Linked DNA regions of Homo sapiens: all the other regions are linked to region 3. The links are contacts of gene promoters, found by promoter capture Hi-C in human tissues and cell types (Jung and others, 2019). All regions are on one chromosome and are shown on one strand. The core of a region is centred on a gene start or on the middle of the fragment in contact, and the rest is flanking DNA. Distances in the headings are between cores, read along the strand shown. Region 1 has its middle 13 kb from the start of LINC00944. Region 2 has its middle 76 kb from the start of LINC02824. Region 3 holds the start of TMEM132B (transmembrane protein 132B).

The links. Contacts are between HindIII fragments. The study calls those that stand out against the background at their distance.
Region 1: a contact is called between a fragment that was not itself captured here and the fragment with the promoter of TMEM132B in region 3, in 1 of the 25 tissues and cell types used here (spleen).
Region 2: a fragment that was not itself captured here is called in contact with the fragment with the promoter of TMEM132B in region 3 in 2 of the 25 tissues and cell types used here (dorsolateral prefrontal cortex and mesenchymal stem cells).

What each region holds. Positions count from the first base shown.
Region 1 is chr12:126,783,737-126,786,879 of GRCh38, reverse strand. No RefSeq gene overlaps it. Among named protein-coding and RNA genes, the nearest start is that of LINC00944, 13 kb to the right of the region's middle. The HindIII fragment of the contact is 4,921 bases long and covers 1-3,143 here.
Region 2 is chr12:126,612,443-126,615,592 of GRCh38, reverse strand. No RefSeq gene overlaps it. Among named protein-coding and RNA genes, the nearest start is that of LINC02824, 76 kb to the left of the region's middle. The HindIII fragment of the contact is 3,086 bases long and covers 270-3,150 here.
Region 3 is chr12:125,184,998-125,187,830 of GRCh38, reverse strand. It overlaps TMEM132B (transmembrane protein 132B), which reads right to left and starts at 1,445. Exons shown (of 9, transcript NM_001366854.1): 1 at 965-1,445. The coding sequence starts at 1,031. RefSeq lists a silencer at 1,453-1,662 and an enhancer at 1,711-2,244. The HindIII fragment of the contact is 11,061 bases long and covers 1-2,833 here.

The DNA.
Region 1 (3,143 bases), core at 108-2,607, 1.6 Mb before region 3:
TGTGCTGGACCACAAGGAGAGCCCCTACTCTGGTTGAGGGTACAAAATGATATGAGTTAGAAATTAATAGGAAAGCTTGGGAAGGGGATGGACTACAGAGAATTCCAGGTGCCCTGTGCATTCCAGGCCCCAGGGTGGAGGGAAAGGGAAGTGTGTCTTCTCTCTCCTCAGCTCAGGAAAAAAGAATTTCAGGAGGACTACCTGGAAACCCCAATATGTGTTCCCTGCAGTGGGAGACACACTGAACCAGGGCCTGACTCACTCTGGGGGGATCTGACGGGTGAGGAGTTCAGCTCCTCTGAGAGCTGAGAGATGATAGTTGCTGCTGCACATGGAGAGGCTAGAACATCAAACAATAAGTCAGTGGAGCCTGGCTGATGTCACGTGAAAAAATTCCCAGAAAGGTGACCTCAAACAGAGACGATATTGGAAGTAGACTTTGGGGTGCCCAGCAGCTAAACAGGGAAGACGATGTGGTCACACAGTTTTGGGGCCACATGAGTGGAAGATCATCAGTCATGGAAGGGGAATTGAGGTTTGCCAAGGAACCCATGAAAGCATCCCTTAAAAAATAATAAAAAAAAAAATGCCAGGCTCGGTGGCTCACGCCTGTAATCCCAGCACTTTGGGAGGCTGAGGCAGGCAGATCACTGAGGTCAGGAGTTTGAGACCAGCCTGGCCAACATAGTGAAACCCCATCTCTTCTAAAAATACAAAAATCAGCTGGACGTAGTGGCAGGTGCCTGTAATTCCAGCCACTCAGGAAGCTGAGACAGGAGAATCGCTTGAACCTGGGAGGCGGAGGTTTCAGTGAGCTGAGATCGCACCACTGCAATCTAGCCTGGGCAACAAAGAGTGAAACTCTGTCTAAATAAATAAATAAATAAATAAAATAAAATAAAATAAAATAAAATAAAATAAAATAAAATAAAAATAAAAAAGACAGTACCCCACCCAGTGCCTCCCAGGCCAGGGAGCACACAGATGCCAGCTGACACCTGTGTTTGTGACCTCATCTTTCCTGTCCCTCCCAACATCTCTTCCCCTTCCTCTGTGTCTGCTCTGCAAACTCAGAACCCTCAGTCTCCAAGCCAGGAGAGAAAACTTTGAGGCCAATGATGAGGGGCAAAAAGAAAGACTTACCGTGCCTACTTCTACCAAAAGAGTTTCAGCTGGGAGAAGAGAAGAATGCTGTCCTTTGATTGTAGCTCAGAATTGGGATTAGTGAATCATTTTTAAATTGAGGCTGTGTTTTGTCATAAAAAGTCATGGATCTGCCTATTTTCATCCACAGGCAAGAAAATATTATCCCAATTGAGCAAATTAAAGGGAAAATAGAAATCTAAGTAAATCTCACTTTTGTGACTCCACCCTTGGGGCCCCCTCTGAAACCTCTAAGGAAAGGTCCTCCCTTGCCTTGTCCAGCTGCTGGGGCTCCAGGTGTTTCCCGGCTCCTAGAATCGTCACTCCCATCTCTGCCTCCATTGTCACTTGGACTTCTTTTTTCTGTGTGTCTTTTTTTTTTTTTTTTTGACAGAGTTTCGCTCTTGTTGCCCAGGCTGTAGTGCAATGGTGCAGTCTTGGCTCACCACAACCTCCGCCTCCCGGGTTCAAGAGATTCTCCTACCTCAGCCTCCCAAGTAGCTGGGATTACAGGCATGTGCTATCACGCCCAGCTAATTTTGTATTTTTAGTAGAGACATCGTTTCTCCATTTTGGTCAGGCTGGTCTAGAACTCCTGACCTCAGGTGATCCGCCCGCCTCAGCCTCCCAAAGTGCTGGGATTACAAGCATGAGCCACCACACCTGGCCTTTTCTGTATGTCTCTATATGTTCTCTCCTCTTCTTATTAGGGTGCCAGTCATTGAATTTAGGAATCACCCTAAAGCCAGGATAATTTCATCTCAAGACCCTGAACTAATTACATTAGCAAAGAAGCTATTTCCAAAGAAAGTCATATTTGTATTTCCAGATTGATTTGAATTGGGGGAAGTTACCATTAACATCCTATGAATGAGTAACACATACTCTTAATGATCCCATTAGGGTAATTTAGGTTTGTACCCCATTCTTTCGTTTCAGCTTTGGAAGACAAACCAAGACAGAGGAAATCTGAACATTTTCTAGGTGTGACGAAAGGAATTTAAGCGCGAGACATCCCATGGGTTTATCATTCCTGTGACTGACCAGCACCTACATTTTAGATGCTGGGGCCTGATCCATCACTCTGTTCTCAGATGTAGCTCCTAAGCCTGGTCGTGAATGAAGCTTCAGCCAAGCTCAAGGGAAGAAATCTGGTCATTTTCAGGCCCATGAAGCAGAAACACACGTGGTTATATGGACTCTGGGGCCCTTTCGCCCTCTGCTGGTGGGTGCCCAATGAAGCTATTTAACTGTATTTGCATTTGCAGCATTTCCAGTCCTCAAGAGGTCAGGAGATTCTCAGAGACAAGCTGATTGCCCAGAAGCAGTTTGCTAGGTTTAGGAAGTTGCTGCATCTGCCATATGCCACGATATATTCCGATGAACCCATCTTTACTAACTAGAGAATTCAGTCTTGATGTACAGGCAAATTGAGGACATAGAAAACAAGGGGTCTAGGGGAACCAGTTCAGTAACCCCTACAAAGAAAGAAGGATTTAAATAGAAGAACTTAATAGTTTCCAGGGAGCTCTCACGATGCAATCAGTAAATTGAGCATTACCGAAGTGTATTTTTCCTGTTTAAACAACTTGCATTAGGCACATGGGAAAGGGCAAAGTATAAAAATGTAATGTTCTTTTTAATAGTAAAAAATGAAAAAAAATTGTTGTGAAAATGAAAGAAAAAATATTGTAACATCTGCTTTTTAAAGCAAACACCTCTTACCATTTTAAAAAGGACAGTGCCCGCAGGTCGTCTGCCTGATGAAAATGCTAGAAAACCAGCTCACTCCCCAGGTTCGTCACCTGCCAGGTAACTTCCTGAGCCCAAATGAAGCCACTGCTGCTGTCAAGTCGTAAGTCAACCAGCACCATCTCGTGGAATGAGCCAATTGCTCTGTAGAACAATGTCAGGGGCCCCTAAGACTACCCCTATGTTCAGAGATTCACTGGAAGCATGCATGAGACCCAATATAGAGAGGTTCTCCCAGCTAAGAAATA
Region 2 (3,150 bases), core at 563-3,062, 1.4 Mb before region 3:
ACTGCCAACATTCCTACAGACTTGGTTTATATTCCACTTACTCTTCCCTCAGAACTCAAAAATTTCCAGTACAGGCATCACCCCTAGAGTTCTCAGTACATCAACACCAGCCTGAGGAGCCTGCCTAGTGCTTCTAAACACTGAAACTACAGTCCAAACATCAAGAAAAGATGGGCCCATCAAACCTGAGTCAAAAAAGCACTGCCATCTCCGAGGTCGTGGGCCATTATCCAAACGAAAAACCCCTCAAACTAAGGTTAAGAAAAGTTTAACTCTCTTTTATCTCTTCTATTCCCCTTTCTTCTTTCCTCATTCTATTACTAATCTTGCTATCAATTAAACTAAGTCAGACTCATCCCAAATCATTGCCTTTAATACTTGCCTTGTTATGCCTTGTGAAGAGAATGAACAATGGCAAAGGTATGTCTCTACTTTAGAAAAATACCTCTGCCCCTTCAGAGAAGCCACTGACCCCACGCCTTGCTCATCGCGGGGGTATCAAGGCACCCCAAGTTGGGAGATATGTTCTCAATGGGAAGATGTCATCCTGACTACCAGTGAACACGGCGGGACCTCCGCAGAAGGCTGTACTGACCTAAAATCTTACCTCTGCCTTACCAAAGGAGCCACCCCCTCTAATTGTCAACTTGACCATTGTAACCCAGTAACTATCTCTATTAACACCCTTACCTCCACCACCCCTGCACCCCTTTTAGAATGCTTTTATGTCTTAGGAGCAGAGGCCAATCAATAGGACCCTATAGGCTTCTTTAAAATATGTTTTACTGACCCTCCTTCTCCTTCTAAACCTTCTACCCTGCACAACAACAATGCCAAGGTAAATATTGTAAAAGTGAAGAATCTAAGACAAACTCTGGCAATTGAAACAGGATATCAAGATATAAATGCCTGGTTGGAATGGATGCAATATTCCATCCGCACTTGGAACAAAAACAATTGTTAAGCTTGTGTGCATGGCAGACCAGAGGCCCAGATTGTCCCCTTTCCACTAGGATGGTCCTTCAATCGACCAGGCATGGGCTGTATGGCAGCTCTTTTCCAGGATTCCACAACCTGGGGCAACAAATCATGCCAAGCTCTCTCTCTGCTATATCCCGAAGTCCAACACCCTGTGGGTCAGCCCCTGAGGGCCATTCAGCTTCCATCTCCCAAAGTCAATTTCACCTCATATCTCTCACGATGTGGGGGGAACTTGGCATTCCTTGGAAGCTTAATGGGATGCAGTGAGCTTAGGCCCTTCCAAGAGCTTACCCATCAGTCTGCCCTTAGTCATCCTCAAGCGGATGTATGGTGGTATTTCAGTGGACCCTTACTGGACACTCTGCCACGTAACAGGAGCGGCACTTGTGCTCTTGTCCAGTTGGCTATCCCTTTCACCCTGGCATTTCATCAACCAGAAAAAGAAAAACCACAACACCGAAAAATAAGAGAAGCCCCTTATGGGTCTTTTGACTTGCAAGTTTACATAGATGCCATTGGAGTCTCATGAGGAGTGCCTGACAGGTTCAAAGTCCAAGACCAAATAGCTGCAGGATTTGAATCCATATTTCCACAGGTAACTATGAATAAAAATGTAGCTTGGATAAATTACATCTATTATAATCAGCAGTGGTATATTAATTACACCAGGGGTGCTATCAAAGGAATAGCCAACCAATTAAGACCCACTAGCCAAATGGCTTGGGAAAACAGGATAACTCTAGAGCCAAAAAAGGTGAGGTTTGTGCTATGATTAAAACCCAATGTTGTACCTTCATCCCAAACAACACTGCCCCCAAAGGGAGCATAACAAAGGCCTTACAAGGACTTACTGCTTTATCCAATGAATTAGCTAAAAATTCTGGAGTAAATGACCCTATTTCAGGATGGCTGGGAATGTGGTTCAGTAAATGGGAAGGAATCATAGCCTCAGTTCTTATTTCTTTTGCAATTGCAATAGGTGGACTCATTCTTGTTGGCTGCTGTGTTATACCATGCATCCATGGGCTAATACAAAGGATTGTACAACCAGCACTTAGTTCTCCTCCAGCTTATTCAAGTAAGCTTTTCTTTTTGGAAGATCAAGTTGAATGGCAAAGCCAAGACATGTTTAAAAAGTTTGAAGAGAAAGAATTGTAAGAAAATTAAAAGGGAGGAATTGTAAGATACAATGAATTTCTCTGAGTTTCTCTTCAAAGATTTAGCCTGCTAACATCCTTGTTCTTTGTTCTCAAACTCATTTCCTGTTCCCCCTTGCCCCTAGTTACTGTAAAACAGCCTACCCCCTTCCCAGGCGCTCTAATCAATAACTCACATCTGTTCCCTTGGTTTCCTGCACCCATTGTTCCCCCAAAACTGCATGTCTCACATGCTTTACCACTGTACCTCACATCCCATTTCCCTTCCTTATTTAGAAAAATATTTGCAAGTAGCCAATCGGGTCAGCTCAGATTGTGCAGTCCAACCCCAGCCCATTGGGGAGTGACACAAAGGTAGGGACTACCGTCAGAGATAAAAGCTTGCTGCTCTCCTTTGTTCCCTGTGCTCTTGTGATCTTGACTGACGTGAGTGGCACACTTCTGCAGAAGTAAATTGCCTTGCTGAGAAAACTTTTGCCTGAGTGTTGTTTTCACTTTGTGGCACCGAGCATTTATTCCTAGAACATTTTTATATCCAACCATTTGTACCTAATTTTTATTTGTAAATTTTGTATTATATTTCTTAAAGGGGGTTTCTAAAATTGTATAATCTTCAGGCCACGTAAAACCTGGAGGCTCTGGCTCTGTCTATACATTAGAATAATCAGGGGAGCCATCACAAAGTGGAGACACAGACCCAATACAGCCCTTAGATAGACTGATTCAATTGGTCTGGCATGAGGTACAGGCATCAAGAGAGACAGAGATGATAGATAGATAGATAGATAGATAGATAGATAGATAGATAGATAGATAGATAGATAGACAGATAGATAGATAGATAGACAGACAGATAGATAGATAGATATAGATAATAGAATGATACATAGAATAATAGAGATTCAATAGATAGAAAGGATATATGATAGATAGATAGATAGATAGATAGACAAAGTTTTCTGTGGGATTCTAAAGTCCAGCCATAGTTTAAAACAATTGATCTGGGTGAAGA
Region 3 (2,833 bases), core at 196-2,695:
TCCCGGGGTTCATCTGAGCCTTTAGGATTTTCTCCACTGCTTGCATGGGGTGGGGGGAGGGGAGGAATTGTCATTTTAGGATACGCTTTCTATAGAACCAACATGTAGCCACACCAAGGTGGGTAGAAAGCTTTCCAAACTCCAGCGAAGACAGACAATACCTGACTATTTTGCTTTTCCCACTCACTAGGATTGGGCGACAGCTGAGCTGGTTCAGCAGGGAGTCCAGCTCCCCGGTGCCCAGGCAATGGCTCTGGACAGCACCGCGTTCCAGGCTCCCCGGCGCGTCCTGGACTGCTTGGCCGCGGCTACCCTCTCCCGCCCGCCTTGGGGTCAGGGCGCTGGAGTAGACCGCGTTTGCAGGAGGCGCGCAGCGGGCTGCTCTTTGGCCAAGAGGAGGCCATTTGGCGAGGGTGGGTAGCTTGGGGAGGGCAGTGTGAAAGCAGGGGAGGGCCGCGGGGCGTGGGGAGGGGCTGCGGACAAGCCAGACAGCGCCGGCCGAGACATCTCCGGGGCCCGCAGGTGTCCCGGGAACGCACCACTGTGCGACCGCGGGCAGCAAGACACTGGAGAAGGGCTGCGTCGACGCCCCCGCCCAGCAAAACCCCTGGAGGAACTGGGACCTGGGGGGGATTTGGCCCAAGGCAGGGCGGGGAGGGGGCTCGATTCCTGCAGTCGCGTCCCCACCCGCCTCGAGAGGCTGAGTGCCCCGGTCTGTGGCCCCCGTGCGTCCCGAAAGGATCCGCAAGGAAGCTAAGGGTTTGGGGGAGAAGGCAGGCGGGCTCTCCCCAGGCGCTAGGCAAAGGGGAACGCGCCGGGGGCTCCTGGGTTCCCAGGGTCTCCCCAGGTCTGTCCAAGTCCGGGAGATGCGCGCTGCCAGGGACTTGAGAAGGAGGTAGCCGCCCGTTCACCCAACTTTGTGCGCCTCGGCCGGGGTCGGGGATGGGGTCCGGGGACGCGTTACCTGGGCACTGGAGCGCAGTCAGCGCCAGCAGGAGCCCGAGCGGCGGCGCCCGGCCCGGGGGCGGCATGGTCCTCGGCGCGCGGTGGGTGCGGCGCGGGGCTGCTCCTCTCGCGCGCCCGGCCCGGCCCGCGGCTCCCGGAGCAGCCCCCGGCGGCTACGCCCGGGCGCCGGGCATGGCTCGCTCCCAGCGCGCCGCTCCTCCCCAGACGCATGCGCCGGCGCTGGCGGCGCTTCCTCGGCTGCGCCTCTGCGCGCTCTCCTGGGCTCGGCCGTGCGTGGCTGGGGAGCTGGGGCGGCCGAGGCTCAGCGCCCCGCGCCCTGGCCGGCTGCCCCGCAGTTGGCCCGAGTTGCGCGGCCCCCGCCGCCGCCGCCGCCGCGGCTCCTGCGCCCCAGCGCCCGTCCCATCCCGGTCGCGCCGCCGCCGCCGCCGCCGCCTCTGCCATCGCCATCTGCCGGCCGCCCCTCGAGCCAGCGAGAGAGTGAGCGAGCGAGCGAGCGCCGGGGGGAGGAGGAGGAGGAGGAGGAGTAGGAGGAGGAGGAGGAGGAGAGGAGCGGAGGGCGGGGCCGCGGCCGGGGGAGGGGCCGCCCGGGAGCCGGGGCACAGGCGGCAGCCCGGCCAGTAGGCGGCGGGACGCGCCACTGCTCGGCGGTTCGGGGGAGGGCGCCCGGCCGGGAGGCTCCGGGAGCCCGCCGGGGGTCGCGGGCGCTCGCGGGTACAGGGGCTGCGGGAGGGGTGCGCAATGCAGAGAGGGGATGCCCAGCTAGATCCGGCGTCTTGGGGCGCAGCGGTAGGAGTTGCCAAGGTCGAGGGGTGAGGAGGCCAGCGGAGGGTCACCGGGATGGGGCAGCGACCTCTGGAGAGGTGGTGTCTGCCGGGGCCAGAGACTGCAAGACTGAGCGCGGACAGGAGGTCCCGGGTTAAATGTGGCACAGCTAGGGAGTGCCTGTGGGAGAGGGGAGAGGAGAGAGGGGAGGGCCTCCGGGAGGCCGAGGCTGTGTGCAGAGCCTCTGCACGGCACCGGGATGGGGGCTAGGGGTGCGCAGGCTGGGTGCGGTGACCTGAAACACAGCGAAGGCGGCCTGGGGATGGCCACCCGGGTGAGGCAGGGTCCCTTATTTACCCAGGCTAGAGGATGCGCCTTCCCATTTCGCGCAGGCCCTAGGAGCACGCGGAGGCAGCCAGGAGTTCTCCTGGGAAGGGCAGATTCCCTGGCGGTCCCGGGAATGAGTTCCCAGCGCAGGGTCAGGCAGTGACGGAGCGGAGGTGTTGCGCAGGGCCGGGTACTAGGTGGTCGAATTCTTCCATCCAGGGGCAGGGACGCAGCCAGAGTGCGGAGGGAGGTCACAGGTCACACGGAGCCCCAGTACCTATTATCCCAGAAACCACTGATCCTCCTGGGCGCCCCACCCCCAACCAGGGCAAAGCCACGGGGGGCTAAGCCGAATGAATGAGTCATGCTGGGAGCATGTGGGGGAGCCTCCAGCAGCGCTCAGATGCCTTCAAGCTTCCCCACCACGCTGGGAGGACAGGGGATATGGGGGGTTGCCCACCTGGGAGGGTGGCTTGGAGTCCTGGCTCCGCCCCAGCCCCCACCACACCAGCCACTTGCTCTGCCATCTCAGTTTTCCATGAAAAAGTGGGTCAAACTCTTTGAAAATGGTCAATAAGGCAGCGTGGGGTGATGAAAAGACAGATTTGGGGAAGGCTCTGGAGTCATGGAGTCTTGGCTGAGAATCCCAGCTCTGCCGCTCCTTAGCTGTGCAAGCTGGGGCGAGTCCCTTATTCCTCCCTGAGCCTCAGTTTTCTCATCTGAGAGATGGAAGGCATTGCACATCACCTGGTGTCCCCAATAACACATACAAAGCCCC